Regions from separate parts of the Homo sapiens genome. Here regions 2 and 3 are each linked to region 1. The links are contacts of gene promoters, found by promoter capture Hi-C in blood cells and fetal thymus (Javierre and others, 2016). All regions are on one chromosome and are shown on one strand. The core of a region is centred on a gene start or on the middle of the fragment in contact, and the rest is flanking DNA. Distances in the headings are between cores, read along the strand shown.

Region 1 (4,737 bases), core at 2,030-4,529:
GCTGGGGAGAGACGCCCCCGGCTCCCCCAACCTCACAGCTGCAAGCGGCATGGTCCGCTGGAAAGACGGGTAGGCCATCCTCCTCAGAGCCCACTCCCACCAGGACAGCCTGACAGTGGGGCTGCCTGGGGAGAGAAGAGTTAAGGCATGACATCACCAGAGAAGCCTCGGCGGGAGAATCCCCGGAAGACAGGAGGCAGATGGATCGGGCACGTGACCACCCCCTCCGGGAGCAGGCAACAGGGAAACAGGGCCAGGATCCCGGCAGCCCTCCACACAATCGGCTCACTGGCTGTCCGGGCCATCTGGCCTCCTGGGGATTGGGCACCACAGGGCCCGGGCTGGGGCCAGGACTCCAGGTCTAGGGCAGGGGTCCAGGAGCAGAGGCCATCAGGGCCTACAGTCCCTCGTACCTTGCTACCCTGACCGGTGTCCCAGGCCTCGGGGGAGGGGCCTGTGGTTTACATGGGGCGTGTCCTCAATTAGGAGCTGGAGCTGCAGGCACCAGGCTGCCCCAGCCAGGGACCTTGAAGGGTCCCAGCCACCCCAGAAGGACACTAGGTCCTCTCTGAGCAGCCCTCTCTTGTTCCCAAGGGGCTAAGAGGACTCTGAATCCCGAAGCAGGGGGCGATGGAGGGAATCTCGCTGTGGTGTCCGCTGACCGCCAGTGCCCAGCCTGCAGCCCCTGGACCCTGACCTCTACCTCAGCTGGAGGATCCCAGAACAGAGAAGGGACCATCCTCCCAGGAGAAGGCAGCAGAGAGCGCCACACCCCAGGAGTTGCAGCCACCCCTGAGCAGGGCCGGATGCAGAGACAGCTGCACCCAGAGCTGCCGCCCTCGGGTTTGGGGCGCCCGTGTCCCTGGAGAGCCAGCAAGGGGGGATGGCTGCACCCAGGAGCTCACGGACGTGCTCATGGGGACAGGGTGGGCCCTGGCAGAGGCCCCGAGAGCCGCTCCCACTGCTGGGAGCCCCTCAGCTCTCCCTTCCTCAGTCCTGGGGACCTAGGCCTCCTCTGCTGTGCTCAGCCCAGGATTTCCTCAGCAGCTTGGAGGACGGGGAGGAGGGTGAGGCTGCCCCCCAACCAAAGCCATGACTCAGCGCCTGAAGCCCCACCCAGGGGAGGGGCACACTGAACAGAGGCCAGGCGGTTCCCCTACACGGGCTCCCCTGGCCTCCGGCCCACTGCACCTGGGCTGCCACTAGGCCCTCCCCAGACCAGGAGGGTGCGGGCAGGGTCCCCCTCTCCCGGGCTGGGGCGACCAGGCTCCACGTTACAGACCACATCTTCCCGCCCACCCTGCCTGGCCCCCCAACCTGGCGGTAGGCCAGGAAACTCAAGTTACGCCCTTAGGGCCTGCCCCCAGGACAGCCTCAGGGAGCCCCTCGAACCCCAGTTAAATCACAGCCTAACCCCAAAACCCACTGGGCCAGGCCATTCTCATCTCCCCACTCCAGTCCATGCCCCACAGGGGTGAGGCACTTTCCCAGGGCAGTCACTCTACGGCACCTACTGCAGCCCCACAGCCCCCATAACTGGCTCCTGTAACAGGCTCCCATGAGAGCCGGTTACCAGAGAGAAGGCCCAGAGGTGAGTGGGTTCCAGCACCCCCACACGACTGGAAGAGGGCAGTACAGGGCCGTCTGCGTGGAGGAGGAGGTCCATTAGGCTTCTGACGGAGGGGCCAGGGAGAAGGTGGGTGCTTCAGCCAGGGTCCAGCCCCCAGCAGGGAGGCCATGCCCACACCTCCCCACAGCCCGGGTCCTCAATGCAGGATCCTAGGGTGCTCAAGTTATTCAACCCCTTTTCCCAGGTCAGCAACAGAAGATGGGAGAGCAGAGGATGGCCCCAGTTCCTCTGCCCAGGGCTGGCGGCCACTCTCCTGGCTGGCCCTGAGCCTCCCACTCCAAGGCTCCTGAGCCTCCTGGTGAGGGCTCCAGGGATACAGAGGCTCCCCGTGCCTCCACACACATGCTGACTTGCCAGCAGATCCCAAGAGACCCAGCGCGCGCGTGCACACCCACACATACACAATCAAGCACACATGTGCAAACATGTTCATGCACAAACATGCCTGCACACACTGGTACCACACATACATGTGTGTTCAAGGAGACACTGCACAGACACGCATCAACATGTGTACCTAGTGATGGAACACGCGTGTACAAGGTGATGTGTCTATTGCTGACATGGCTAACACAGTACGTGAACCCACACAGACAGGTGGTGTGTGCACACGCTTGCGTGCACTCATCGGCAGGCTACATGCAGAAGCAAGCACAGCCCCGTGGCACAGCTCATCCACACGTCCTGTGCAAGGCCTGGTGTCCGGAGGGAGGCACGCAGAGGGGCAAAGTTCACAAGAGCGCACCCCGCACGAGCTCGTGCAGAGGAGGGGGCCTCACGCAGGTGCGCACTTGGGGATGCAGAGAGGTTTCTTTGCCTCCATTGTCGTTTGCCAAATGTCCACCAAGCAAAGCCGATGCACACTTGTGCACACGTCTGTGAACATGTAGTTCACGCAGGTGTACACGCCTGCACGCCACGAATGATGGAAAACATGCAGACTCGGTGTGCACACAACCCCTACCCCCTACCTGACCTTCCCCGCCGCTCTTCTCGGCCGCCACCCCTCCAAGCCCCTGGGTCATTCAAACCACTTCACGTTTCCAAGCACCCTACCCCAGGCCTTAAACGCGGCTCCAGCTGCCTGTTCCCCACGCGCTGCTCTGGACACAGGATCAAGTCAGAGACCAGGGGCCGACGCCCCCACGGACCCAGACGACCCTGGCCAGAGCTGGACTGCAGGGCCCGGGAGGGGCTCAGCCCAGTGGAGGTGCAGACACAGAGCGGGGGCGGACGGTCCCGAGGTGCCCACGGCTGCCCACGCGCACGCCCTCCACCCGGGGCGGCCGCACAGGGCAGGAGCGTCTTTTGTTCCAACCCCCGGGGCATGGCGGGGCGGGGCCGCCGCTTTGTCCGAGGCCGGTCCTCCAGCCCCTCCCCGGCGGCCGCGGCCCGGCCCGGCGCTGACCTCCCCACCCCGCCGCCGGGCACAAAGGCGACAGCGACGCCCCCGGCCTGCGCCCACCCCGGCGGCCCCGGGCGGCGCACCTGAAGCGCGGGGAGTCCTTGACGCACTCCTCGAACTCCACGGTCATGGCTGCGGCGGCCGCGGCGCTCACTGGCACGAGGACCGCGGCGCCGAGCGGCAGCCGCGCCGGCCCGGACCGCTCGTCCCGCCCGCGCCGCCTCGGCGCCCGCCCGCCCCGGAATGAGGCCGCCGCGCCGCGCCCCGCCCCGCCTGTCACCGCCGGGGAGCGTCGCCAAAGTCAGCCGCCCGCGCGCACCGCCCGCTGTCACTGCCGGGGAGCGTCGCCAAGGTCCGCCGCCCGCGCGCGCCGCCCGCTGTCACCGCCGGGGAGCGTCGCCAAACGCCTCTCGCAGCGTCCAGGGACCACCCCGGTCCGGAAGTGAGGCGGGGCCTGCCACGGCCGTCTCCGGGGACAGTCGGTGGAAATGTGGGGCGCGGGGAGGGCGCGGGGAGGGCGCGGGCCCGCCCGCTCCAACCATCCCGGCCGTTGCGCAACTCAGGGCGTTTGCAAAAACCACGTCTGGGAGGACTTGGCCGCAACGCGGCGAACGGGCGCGCTCGGGGAGTGTGGGCGGCGGCGAATGAATGAGCGAGTGAACGAATGCACGCCCGCGAGAGCGCGGGGTGACCGCGTGGTTGGTGCGCGCCTCCCGGGGCGCCGCGATAGAGGTAGAGCGCCTGCGCTCGGCGGCGGGCCGGCACTTTGCAGCCGCTCCCTAAGCCCGGCCCCGCCTCCGCTCCCCGACTCTGGCCGCCGTGGCGCGGTGCCACCGCGCAGGCGCAAGAGCGGCCGGGGCCGGGGGGGAGGGGGGGGGGGCGTGACCAGGCCGCGTCCGCGCGCGCGCAGGATTCCTGCGCTGGAGGCCGCCTCTGACGCCACCGGCTGGGCTCCGCCATGAGTTCGGCGCCGGCCTCAGGCTCCGTGCGCGCGCGCTATCTTGTGTACTTCCAGTACGTGGGCACCGACTTTAAGTAGGTTTCCCAGGCGCAGCGGCGGGCGCCACGTGGGCCCGGGCGGAGGCGGGAAGGAGGGCGCGGGCGGGCAGGCGGATGTCTCTGGACGCGGGTTCCAAACGTTCGGGGAAGGAAGCGGCCCTGGCCTCAGACGGCGGCGGAGACCCCAGGGCAGGGCGCCCCCGGTAACCTCCGCCCGCTTCTGCCCGCAGCGGGGTCGCGGCCGTCAGGGGCACTCAGCGCGCCGTCGGGGTCCAGAACTACCTGGAGGTGCGCTCAGCCGGTCACGGGACGCCCGGTGAGGGGTAAGGGGGAGGCTCCCGCCCGCGCGTCCCCGGGGTCCGGCCTCGCTCACCCGCCCGCCCCGCGGCTCGGTCCTGCAGGAGGCCGCCGAGCGGCTGAATTCCGTGGAGCCGGTCAGGTTCACCATCTCCAGCCGCACGGACGCCGGGGTCCACGCCCTGAGCAACGCGGCGCACCTGGACGTCCAGCGCCGCTCAGGCCGGCCGCCCTTCCCGCCCGAGGTCCTGGCCGAGGCCCTCAACACACACCTGCGGCACCCGGCCATCAGGTGAGCCCGCGACCTAAGCAGCCCTGGGGCTGTGCCTTCCCGACTCCATCTGTCGCGGGCGGAGGCTGGAGATCTGGACAGACTTCCTTGTCTGGTCGGAGCTCGAGGGGGAAG
Region 2 (4,737 bases), core at 1,657-4,156, 350 kb before region 1:
CCCCATACTGATAACAAAAATGGAAACAAAGTCTAGAATTCTCTGGGAAGAGGAGGGAGTCTGGCTCAGGAGCCCCAGGAAAAGGACTGGGAGTTCCAGATCCTGGACTATGGCCACCTCCAGGTGGTATCTGGAGCTCTCCGTATCCTTGTCCCTGGAAAAAAACACTGTGAGAGGCTCAGAAGGACCCCAGCTCCACCAACCAACAAAGGCACAGTCCGTCCCACCCACAGCGGGACTGACTTTGGGGAGTGGGGCGCCAACAGAGCCCCTGGAATCTACCCAAAAGTGAACACACAGTCCTGGGGCAACCAAGCAAGCAGGAGGAGCAACGTGTTGTCACTTGCGCTGAAGAAGGCTCCAAGCGTCCCCTGCGTGGAGAACAGCCCCTCCCACCAGCACAGCCTCAGGCGCCTCAGGTGAGGCAAGGCCAGATCTCTGCCTGGGCACCCAGCTGCCCGCCCCTCGCTGCTGCTCACCTCAGGTGAGGCAAGGCCAGATTTCTGCCTGGGCACCCAGCTGCCCGCCCCTGGCTGCTGCTCACCTTTGCTGCCTGCTTCCATCTCTCAACCATGGCGACGGTCACAGGAACAGAATTCTTCTTCCCCTTCAGCCCTCTGGGGACTCTGTCCCCATCTTCTCCTTCCTCCGCTCCATCCTCCTCCTCACTGGCTTCCTGCACAGAAAGGCTGAGCTGAAGGAGAGTGTAGAGACAAGTGCCCCCCTTCTGGTTTGGCCCACGCCCTCACCTCCAGCACATCTGGCAGGGAGTGGAACGGCCCCTCTTCCTCCTCAGAGCTGTCCGAGTCGCTGAAGTTTAGCAGGCTCTGGTCATTCTCCTGCAGGAACTTGTAGAACTCGGGGTCTCTGTCCTTCAGCCGAGAGAGCTGGTCTTTGTGCTCAGAGGCACGGCCTTTACGCCGGCTGAGGAGGCAGAAGTCAGCGACCCCAGTGGGAAGTGGAAGTAGAGGGGGCGGGGAGTGGCCTACAGGGTCAGTCTACTCCCTTCACAAGGGTTACCAACTAGCAAGACAGGATTGCCAGGAGGTACGTTTTTGGCAGACTCACGTCTCCTACCCAACAACCTCTACAACATACCCTCAAACACACTACACAGGCCCCCCAGCCGCGGTCTTCCCTGGACTTGCTGTGCCTGCGCCCTGCGCTACACAGGCCCCCAGCCGCGGTCTTCCCTGGACTTGCTGTGCCTGTGCCCTGCGCTACTTTTGCCTGATGGTGGCTTCACCCTTCCAGAGGCTCAGACTAAAGGCAAATCTCTGTCTCTAATACCCAGCACGCAACTTGTCATCAGATCTCATCAGCAACACCTTCAAAACCGTTCGTGCCTCCTCTCAAACCACCACATAGTTCAATTCTCAGTTAACCTAAAGGTCTCTCTGTTTCCACCCTTGTCACCTACAAGGCACTCCACCGCTCAAACCCAGAAGTAACTCCCTGTTTTACGAGGCAATCTTATGACGGTCTACGGCACCTGGCTCTTCATCACCCTTCTGGGCTCATCTACCCCTATTCACCCCCTCACTCCTGCCGTAGCCACGTTTACCTCTGTACTCTCCCCAAATGCTCCCACTGCAAGGCTTTTGCTGTTTTCTGCTGCCTGAAATCCTAAGACACGTTTCCCCTACTGTCTGTGTGGCCTCCTTGTTCGAGGTCTTTATTCAGACGTCATCTTCTCAAACAACCACCTCCGCTTTTTTTTTTTTTTTTTTTTCTCCTGAGGCGGAATCTCACTCTGTCGCCCAGGCTGGAGTGCAGTGGCGCAATCTCCACTCACCGCAACCTCCGCCTCCCGGGTTCAAGCGATTCTCCTGCCTCAGCCTCCCGAGTAGCTGGGACGACAGGTGTGTGTCACCACGCCAGGCTAATTTTTGTATCTTTTGATTTCTTTCTTTTTCTTTTTGAGATGGAGTCTCACTCTCTCACCCAGGCTGGAATGCAATGGTGCCATCTCGGCTCACTGCAACCTCCGCCTCCCAAGTTCAAGCGATTCTCCTGCCTCAGCCTCCCGAGTAGTTGGGATTACAGGTGCCCACCACGCCCGGCTAATTTTTATATTTTTAGTAGAGACATGATTTTTCCGTGTTGGTCAGGCTGGTCTCGAATTCCTGACCTCAGGTAATCTGCCCGCCTCGGCCTCCCAAAGTGCTGGCATTACAGGCGTGAGCCACCGAGCACAGCCTCCGCTCCTTCTAACAGAGCAACTCGGCTCCCCTGCAACTCTCTCTTCAGCCCCTCTGTCCTTCCTTTCCCTCCCCAGCACTTATCTCTCTTCTACCGAACTGCAGGCGGTGATTTCACCCAAGAACGTGAGAGTTCTCCTAGATCGGGAAGAGATTTTTGCACAACTCACCAACATACGCTCCCTGCCTAGGACAGAGTTTGGCACGGAACAGGAGCTCAGTAAACATCGGATGAAAGAGTAAGTTAAGCTGAAAGGACTGGGGGGCAGAGGTCGGCGATCCTTAGGCCTTGGCCCTGAGACCCCAGGCGAGGTCAGCAACCCAACCGGGGTGGGACAGGACGAGCAAGAGGTTCTGCTCACGCATGTCCCCACTAACCTGGCCGAGGGGCTCCCGCCCGGCTTATCCGGACTCCGGGCAGCCTCGCGTGCTTCCCGTGTCTCCGCTTGTGGAGAATTTTCGGACTCGGATTCGGACTCGGAGTCAAAGCCCGAAGCTAGGAACTCGTCCACCGTCAGCTCCGCCAGGCGCCTGCGGGTCACGCAGGAGTCACAGCTGCCCGCACGCCCAGCTCGCCCCAGCCCCGCTGAGAGGAGCAAGAAAAGCCCCCTTGGATACAGACACCCACCGGGAGGCCAAATCGGCCCTCGGACCCGCGGCTTACCTCTTGCGGCTCCCCGCAGCTGCCATGACACCAACCCGAAGCGTGCACCCCACTTCCGGCCCCAGAATGCCGCGCGGCTGCGCACTTCCGCCGCCCAGGCCCCGCCCCTTTCCCCGCCCCGCCGCGCCACGCCCAGCCGAGTGGCTCTATGGTTCTCCGACCGCAACGCCGGCGGCCTCAGGGCGGGAGGGCGCGTTCGCGTGCTCGGTGCGGGCAGCCCCGGTGGGGCCCAGATGCGCCTCCCGCTCGGCGCCCGGCTCCGTAGGACGCGGTGACGCCGGTGTCCGCCCCGGGGAAGACCGGGAGTCCCGCCGCGCCCGCAGCCCACCCGGCGCTCCGAAGGCACGCGCCTGCGAGGACGCCAGACTGCAACGGCGGGGCTCCTATGCAAAGAGCTCCCACAAATCAACAATAAAAAGCAGGGAGTCCAGTGGAAAACGCGAGGGGCAGTGGGAACCGCACTGATGTCGCCAGCTCGACAAAAGACGGGCGACCCGAGGGCCAGGCTGGCTTCGCCTCCGATCCGCGGAGACCGGGCCAGCGCCACGAACACCACGCAGGGCGCTCCCCGTCCATGGCCCTCTGGGTGCCGACCGCGGCTCTTCCCGGGGACGCCGCACGGGACGAAGACGGTGGGGAGGCCGGCGCCTTCCTTCCCGCTACCAGCCTGACACCCGGGCCCCCGGGCCTGGACAGCCAGACCCCGCGACAAGGGCGCCGCGGGGCGCAGGCACGGCTCCCCCAGCCCTGGCGCTGAGGGGGCGCGTGAGGCGAACACGGGCGGATTGGCCTCGGGGTCCCATTCGACTTCTTGGTGCCGCGGGGCCCCGGGGCTCCCCGGAGGAGAGCAAGTTAGGGGGTCGGGGGAGCGGGGATGGCTTCCGGGGGAGGAGGAGGGCGAGGCCTGGGGGGCTCCTCGGAGGAGGAAGAGGGCGAGGCTTAGGGGGGCTCCTTGGAGGAGGAGGAGGGCGAGGCTTAGGAGGGCTCTTCGGAGAAACAGGAGGGCGAGGCCTGTGGGGGGCTTCCCGGGGAAGAAGGAAGGCGAGACCTAGGGGGGCTTCCCGGAGGAGGAGGAGGAGGAGGGCTAGGCCGGGGGCTTCCCAGAGGAGGAGGATGGCGGGGCCTGGGGGGCTTCTCGGAGAAGGAAGATGGCGAGGCCTAGGGGGGCTTCTCGGAGGAGGAGGAGGGCGAGGCCTGGTGGGGGGCTTCCCGGAGGAGGAGGATGGCGGGGTCTGGGGGTGCTTCTCGGAGGAGGAGGCGGACCCGGGGCGCAGCGCTGGAAGAATCCGCGTCCAACGTCTAGTCCCCGAAGCCTCTCGGGAGGCGGGGCGGGCGGCGCCGAGAAACAGCGGCTGCGGGCGGGAGCGGCGGGAGTGAGCGACACAGAGCGGGCCGCCACCGCCGAGCAGCCCTCCGGCAGTCTCCGCGTCCGTTAAGCCCGCGGGTCCTCCGCGAATCGGCGGTGGGTCCGGCAGCCGAATGCAGCCCCGCAGCGAGCGCCCGGCCGGCAGGACGCAGAGCCCGGAGCACGGCAGCCCGGGGCCCGGGCCCGAGGCGCCGCCGCCTCCACCGCCGCAGCCGCCGGCGTGAGTGGGCGGGGGTCGGGGCGCGGGGGGCGGCCTCGGGACCTGCGCGGCCCCCGCCCTCGCGTCCGCTCGCAGAAGGGGCGGGGGCCGCTTCCGAGGGCCGGGGGAGGTCGGGACTCAGGTGCGGAGCGGGGTCGGCCCGGAGTAGGTTCCCCACCCGCGCCCCGCGCGCCCAGGACGCGACTCCCGCTGCGGTCCCGAGAGGGCGGCTAGGGACGCGGAGGAGCTGAGCTCGTGGGGGCGCCGGGAAGCGGGGCCGGACGCGGGGCTCTGTTCGCGGCTCTGA
Region 3 (4,737 bases), core at 1,564-4,063, 270 kb before region 1:
CCACATTCCAAGAGGAGCGGACTCTCTGAGGCCCTGGAGGCAGAGGGGAAGGGGCCAGGACCTGGCCCTGCACACCAGATGGGGATGGGGAGCCAGTGCTCAGCCTGGCTTCAAGGTCCCGCCAGGTACCCAAGGTCTCTCCACTGCCCTGCCACATTGGTCCAGCAGCTGGTCACTCAGAGCCTGTCCCTAAGGTACCTCTAGGCTCCCATCCCAGAGCTTGCTCTCCATGCCCCTGCAAGCAGTCCAGCCCCGCTCACCCTGGTGAGCTGCCATCATCACCTTCTTCCCCAAGGCTCTGTCTTGGGACGTAGCAGGACCTCGGGCTGGACTATGGAGGGAGCTGCGGGTCCTGGTGGATGAGGAGCATGCCCGCCATCCAGGAACAGTGCCCTTGGCCATGGTGTCAGGGCCTTGGGAGAGGTCTGGCTGAGCCAAGGTGACCAAAAGGGGAGAAAGGCTCAGGAGCCCTGGTGCAGGGAGGTGACTGGGTCCTTGGCCATGGGGTTGGGACCTGGGGGGAACCATTGGTCCACAGGTCCAGCCGAAGCCCAGGAGAACAGCTGGCTGGGCATCAGCAGGTGCCCGTTGGATTTGGACTGGGAGTCCCAGGGCCTTGGACAAGGCAGGGCCAAAGGGAGAGGGAGATGCTGAGGGGAGAGAGAAGGGGAACCAGAAGGGAAGTGAAAGGGCCAGGGGTGCATGTGGTTTGAGTTTGATTTGAGCCAGGACGGGGGAAGGCCAGTGGTGATGACAGCCCTCATGACTATACTTACAGTGGCAGCAGACGGGCCACATAGCGCTGTGTGCTGGGCACCCTCTAAGCTTTGCAGATACTGGCCCATTTAACCCCACAATCCTGGGAGGTAGGTCCTATTGCTCCTATTCACCGAAGGGGATACTGAGGCCCAGGCAGGTGATAACCTGCCCACATTCTCACAGTGGGTAATGCAGAGCTGAGCAGCCTGGCTGTAAGACCTGAGGTGGGAGAGTAGCAGAAGAGGGGTGGGGGCACAGCCAAGGTTTGGGGAGGAAGACAGGGATCTGGTGGGGGGAGCATGGGTAGGTTGCAGGGATGGCAGGCGGATGGCCCTCACTCAGCCTTCTGGGGTGGGGGCAGGGACACCCAGACAGACAGCGCCAGAGCCTGGGGTGGGCTGTTGCTATAGCAACAGCTGGCTCCAGCTCCCAGTGCACCCACCCTCCTTGGAGATGGGGGGGGTTCCTCCTGCCCCATTTCACGAGCCTGCTGGGAAGTGATGGGTGGTAGCCACCCCTCTGACATGACTTATTAATGATAATTGGACCCAATTAAACATTTATTAAATCCAGACAGCTGCAGCCGCTAACGGACCCTTCCCTGATCCTGGGTGGGCCATGCTGGGGGTGGGGGTGCTCAGGATGGGCTGCCGCAGGGGCTCTGGGTTTTAACGTGCCTGAGGCAGCTTTGTTGGCCACGTTGAGGTCTGGTGATGGGACGTGTGTCAGGCGCTGTGGTCTGCAGCTGTAAGAACTAAAATGAGCAACAGTTCCTGCACCTCTCCAAGAAGGAAGTTCGCTTTGACAGAGAGTGAGGGCGATGGAGGAGGCAAGAGTGAGGTGGGGGGCCGGGGGATGCCCAGGGAGGAGGGGGCGTGTGGGTGCCCCAGGGATCCCAGGGAGCGATGGGAGGCTGCAGAAGGGCACAGGCCTGCCGCGGGTGGGGGGCTGGCCAGGGAGAATAGGAGATAGTAGAGGCGGAGGCCAGGAATTTGCACTTCTCCAGGGAAGCTGGGGAAGAGTTGGGGAGAGGGAGGCAAGAAGATTCCCCACCCATCTTAGGCGCAGGGAGCGGTCAGGGAGGCGCCAGAGGTGGGCCAGAGCTGTGACCTGGCCTCACACCCCGTCCCGGTGGGGCTCTCAGGCCCCTGAGGGCCAGACGCGGGACCTGGGTGCGACCCGGGCGGGAGGCGGCAGGGCTCAGCTGTGCTGGACGCTGCAGCAGCGCGGGAAGGGGCTCCCCCGGCTCCATGGGGTGAATCGGTGAGGGGCTCCGGTGCCGATGTGGAAGGAGCTCCTGAGCAGAACTGGGGCCTGGACTGCTTGTGCCCGAGTTGGTTTCGAGGCGTCTCTGCTTTTCGCTGGAGGCCCACGAGGTGGGTGGGAAGTGGGTGCTCGCCCGTCGCAGAAACAGAGTCGGGTGCCGCCTGCGGCAGACGCCCCTCTCCGCGCCTGCAGGTGCGGGGTGGGGGAGAAAGGTCATCCCTGGAGAGGCCCGGGGCTGGCGGGAATCCTCGGCGGGCGGGGTCTGCGAGGGGCAGGGCCGGTCCTGTGAGCGCACGCACGCGTGTCCGTGTCCGTGGTGGACCCCCGATGCGGCGCGGGGGCGGGTGAATGCGCGGGCTGCGAGCACGGCAAGGTCTCTCAGGCTTGTGGACGTGGGTACGGGCGTCTCGGCACCCTGAGCTTTCTCCCCTACCCGCCCCAGCGTGCCGGGGAATGCTGTGCGGCTTCGGCGCCGTGTGCGAGCCCAACGCGGAGGGGCCGGGCCGGGCGTCCTGCGTCTGCAAGAAGAGCCCGTGCCCCAGCGTGGTGGCGCCTGTGTGTGGGTCGGACGCCTCCACCTACAGCAACGAATGCGAGCTGCAGCGGGCGCAGTGCAGCCAGCAGCGCCGCATCCGCCTGCTCAGCCGCGGGCCGTGCGGTGAGCGGGGCGGGGCCGGTGCCTGGGGCGGGGAGGGGCGGGGCCTATGAGATGGAGCGAGGCTGGGAGGGGCTTCGGGGCCAGTGGGGCGGGGGCAGGGGCGGGGCCCGGCGGGGAGGAGCGGGGCTGGGAGGGGCCTGGGGGGCGGAGCGGGGCGGGAGCGGGGGCGGGGCCTGCGGGGCCCGGCGGGGAGGAGCGGGGCTGGGAGGGGCCTGGGGGGCGGAGCGGGGCGGGAGCGGGGCGGGAGCGGGGGCGGGGGCGGCCCGTCTGACCGGCAAAGCCCCGCCCGCAGGCTCGCGGGACCCCTGCTCCAACGTGACCTGCAGCTTCGGCAGCACCTGTGCGCGCTCGGCCGACGGGCTGACGGCCTCGTGCCTGTGCCCCGCGACCTGCCGTGGCGCCCCCGAGGGGACCGTCTGCGGCAGCGACGGCGCCGACTACCCCGGCGAGTGCCAGCTCCTGCGCCGCGCCTGCGCCCGCCAGGAGAATGTCTTCAAGAAGTTCGACGGCCCTTGTGGTGAGCGCGGCGGCGGGCGCACGGCTCGAGCTCTGTGGGCGCGCGGCGACAGCGTCCTGACTCCTGCCCTCGACCCCCAGACCCCTGTCAGGGCGCCCTCCCTGACCCGAGCCGCAGCTGCCGTGTGAACCCGCGCACGCGGCGCCCTGAGATGCTCCTACGGCCCGAGAGCTGCCCTGCCCGGCAGGCGCCAGTGTGTGGGGACGACGGAGTCACCTACGAAAACGACTGTGTCATGGGCCGATCGGGGGCCGCCCGGGGTCTCCTCCTGCAGAAAGTGCGCTCCGGCCAGTGCCAGGGTCGAGGTGAGCGGCTCCCCCGGGGGAGGGCTCCGGCCAGTGCCAGGGTCGAGGTGGGCGGCTCCCCCGGGGGAGGGCTCCGGCCAGTGCCAGGGTCGAGGTGGGCGGCTCCCCCGGGGGAGGGCTGCGGCCAGTGCCAGGGTCGAGGTGGGCGGCTCCCCTCTGGGAGGGCCGCCTGCTCCCCTGCTCCCTGCACATCCCAGGGCAGGGATGGAGGGTGCTCCAGCCTCTCCGTGACTCCCTCACCCCTGCGTCCTAGACCAGTGCCCGGAGCCCTGCCGGTTCAATGCCGTGTGCCTGTCCCGCCGTGGCCGTCCCCGCTGCTCCTGCGACCGCGTCACCTGTGACGGGGCCTACAGGCCCGTGTGTGCCCAGGACGGGCGCACGTATGACAGTGATTGCTGGCGGCAGCAGGCTGAGTGCCGGCAGCAGCGTGCCATCCCCAGCAAGCACCAGGGCCCGTGTGGTGAGCGCCCCGGGGTGGAGGCCAGGCGGGGTGGGCTGCTCCTGCGTCAGTCCCTGCCTGGACATCACATGCCATCTTCATCCATCATGTTCCTCTTGGGGTCCTGGGAGTGGGCCGGTCCCTCTGGGAAGGCTCTGGGGAGGGTGGAGCCTGTGTGCGGAGGGTACCTGGATACCTGGGGGCTGGTGAGGCAGAGGCGGGGCCTTGTCCAGGCTCCCTGGTCCCTGACCTCAGCCACGCCCTCCCTGGGAGTCCTCTGGCCTGTCCGCATGTCTCCACGCTGTAAGCACAGGCTGTTGGGGTGGGCAGGCTGGACACAACACCAGGGTCCTCACTCTTGGGACATGGGCAGCCGTCGGCCGTTTTGGAGGCAGTGTCAGGACTTGAAGGGCCAGGGGGAGGCAGTGGCCGTCGTGTCCCGTCGTGTTCGTCTTGGTCAGTTCGCCCATCTTCTGGTCTTTCTCTCTGCGTCTGTCTCTTCTCTTTGGTCTCTTCTTCCCTGTCGGCTCCGCCTCTTGTGTCTTCCAGCCTGACCTGCTGGCAGGATGAGGTGCCGTGCCTGCCCTCCAGGAGCCCGCAGCCCGAGGTCTGCCCCTGGTGCGGCAGGGGGGGTGGCTTGCTGCTGCCTGGCCTTGTGGTCCTCAGAGCAAGTGGACAGACACCTCCTCCCCCGTGCAGCCCTGGGTGTGACTCTGGGGGTGCAGGCTCCTCCCACCCACAGAGAGCCCCCCCACATGCATGGGTGTCCTGGGGATGCTGGTGGTCAGGGGTC

The links. The method cuts DNA at HindIII sites, captures the fragments that hold promoters and counts their contacts. A CHiCAGO score of 5 or more calls a contact.
Region 2: a contact is called between the fragment with the promoter of NOC2L here and the fragment with the promoter of ACAP3 in region 1, in 3 of 17 cell types (naive CD4 T cells, total CD4 T cells and activated CD4 T cells). The highest score is 6.4, in naive CD4 T cells.
Region 3: a fragment that was not itself captured here is called in contact with the fragment with the promoter of ACAP3 in region 1 in 15 of 17 cell types (M0 macrophages, erythroblasts, naive CD4 T cells and 12 more); the score reaches 11.9 in M0 macrophages.

Annotation. Positions count from the first base shown.
Region 1 is chr1:1,304,651-1,309,387 of GRCh38, forward strand. ACAP3 (ArfGAP with coiled-coil, ankyrin repeat and PH domains 3) reads right to left here and starts at 3,280. Exons shown (of 24, transcript NM_030649.3): 1 at 3,119-3,280. The coding sequence starts at 3,165. It overlaps PUSL1 (pseudouridine synthase like 1), which reads left to right and starts at 3,947. Exons shown (of 8, transcript NM_153339.3): 1 at 3,947-4,070; 2 at 4,265-4,322; 3 at 4,436-4,623. The coding sequence starts at 3,994. SNORD167 (small nucleolar RNA, C/D box 167) reads right to left here and starts at 162; the gene lies at 79-162. RefSeq lists an enhancer at 1-124 and silencers at 2,829-3,048, 3,099-3,268, 3,309-3,988, 4,209-4,278, 4,309-4,448 and 2 more. The HindIII fragment of the contact is 38,674 bases long and covers 1-4,737 here.
Region 2 is chr1:956,350-961,086 of GRCh38, forward strand. It overlaps NOC2L (NOC2 like nucleolar associated transcriptional repressor), which reads right to left and starts at 2,907. Exons shown (of 19, transcript NM_015658.4): 1 at 2,866-2,907; 2 at 2,580-2,732; 3 at 750-924; 4 at 545-676. The coding sequence starts at 2,891. It overlaps KLHL17 (kelch like family member 17), which reads left to right and starts at 4,235. Exons shown (of 12, transcript NM_198317.3): 1 at 4,235-4,451. The coding sequence starts at 4,345. RefSeq lists enhancers at 2,175-3,032, 2,691-2,800 and silencers at 2,911-3,170, 4,129-4,438, 4,459-4,737. The HindIII fragment of the contact is 14,217 bases long and covers 1-4,737 here.
Region 3 is chr1:1,038,198-1,042,934 of GRCh38, forward strand. AGRN (agrin) reads left to right here. Exons shown (of 36, transcript NM_198576.4): 4 at 2,468-2,683; 5 at 2,976-3,200; 6 at 3,281-3,505; 7 at 3,759-3,965. Among named protein-coding and RNA genes, the nearest start is that of AGRN, 20 kb to the left of the region's middle. RefSeq lists an enhancer at 1,349-2,027 and a silencer at 2,583-2,792. The HindIII fragment of the contact is 3,981 bases long and covers 824-4,737 here.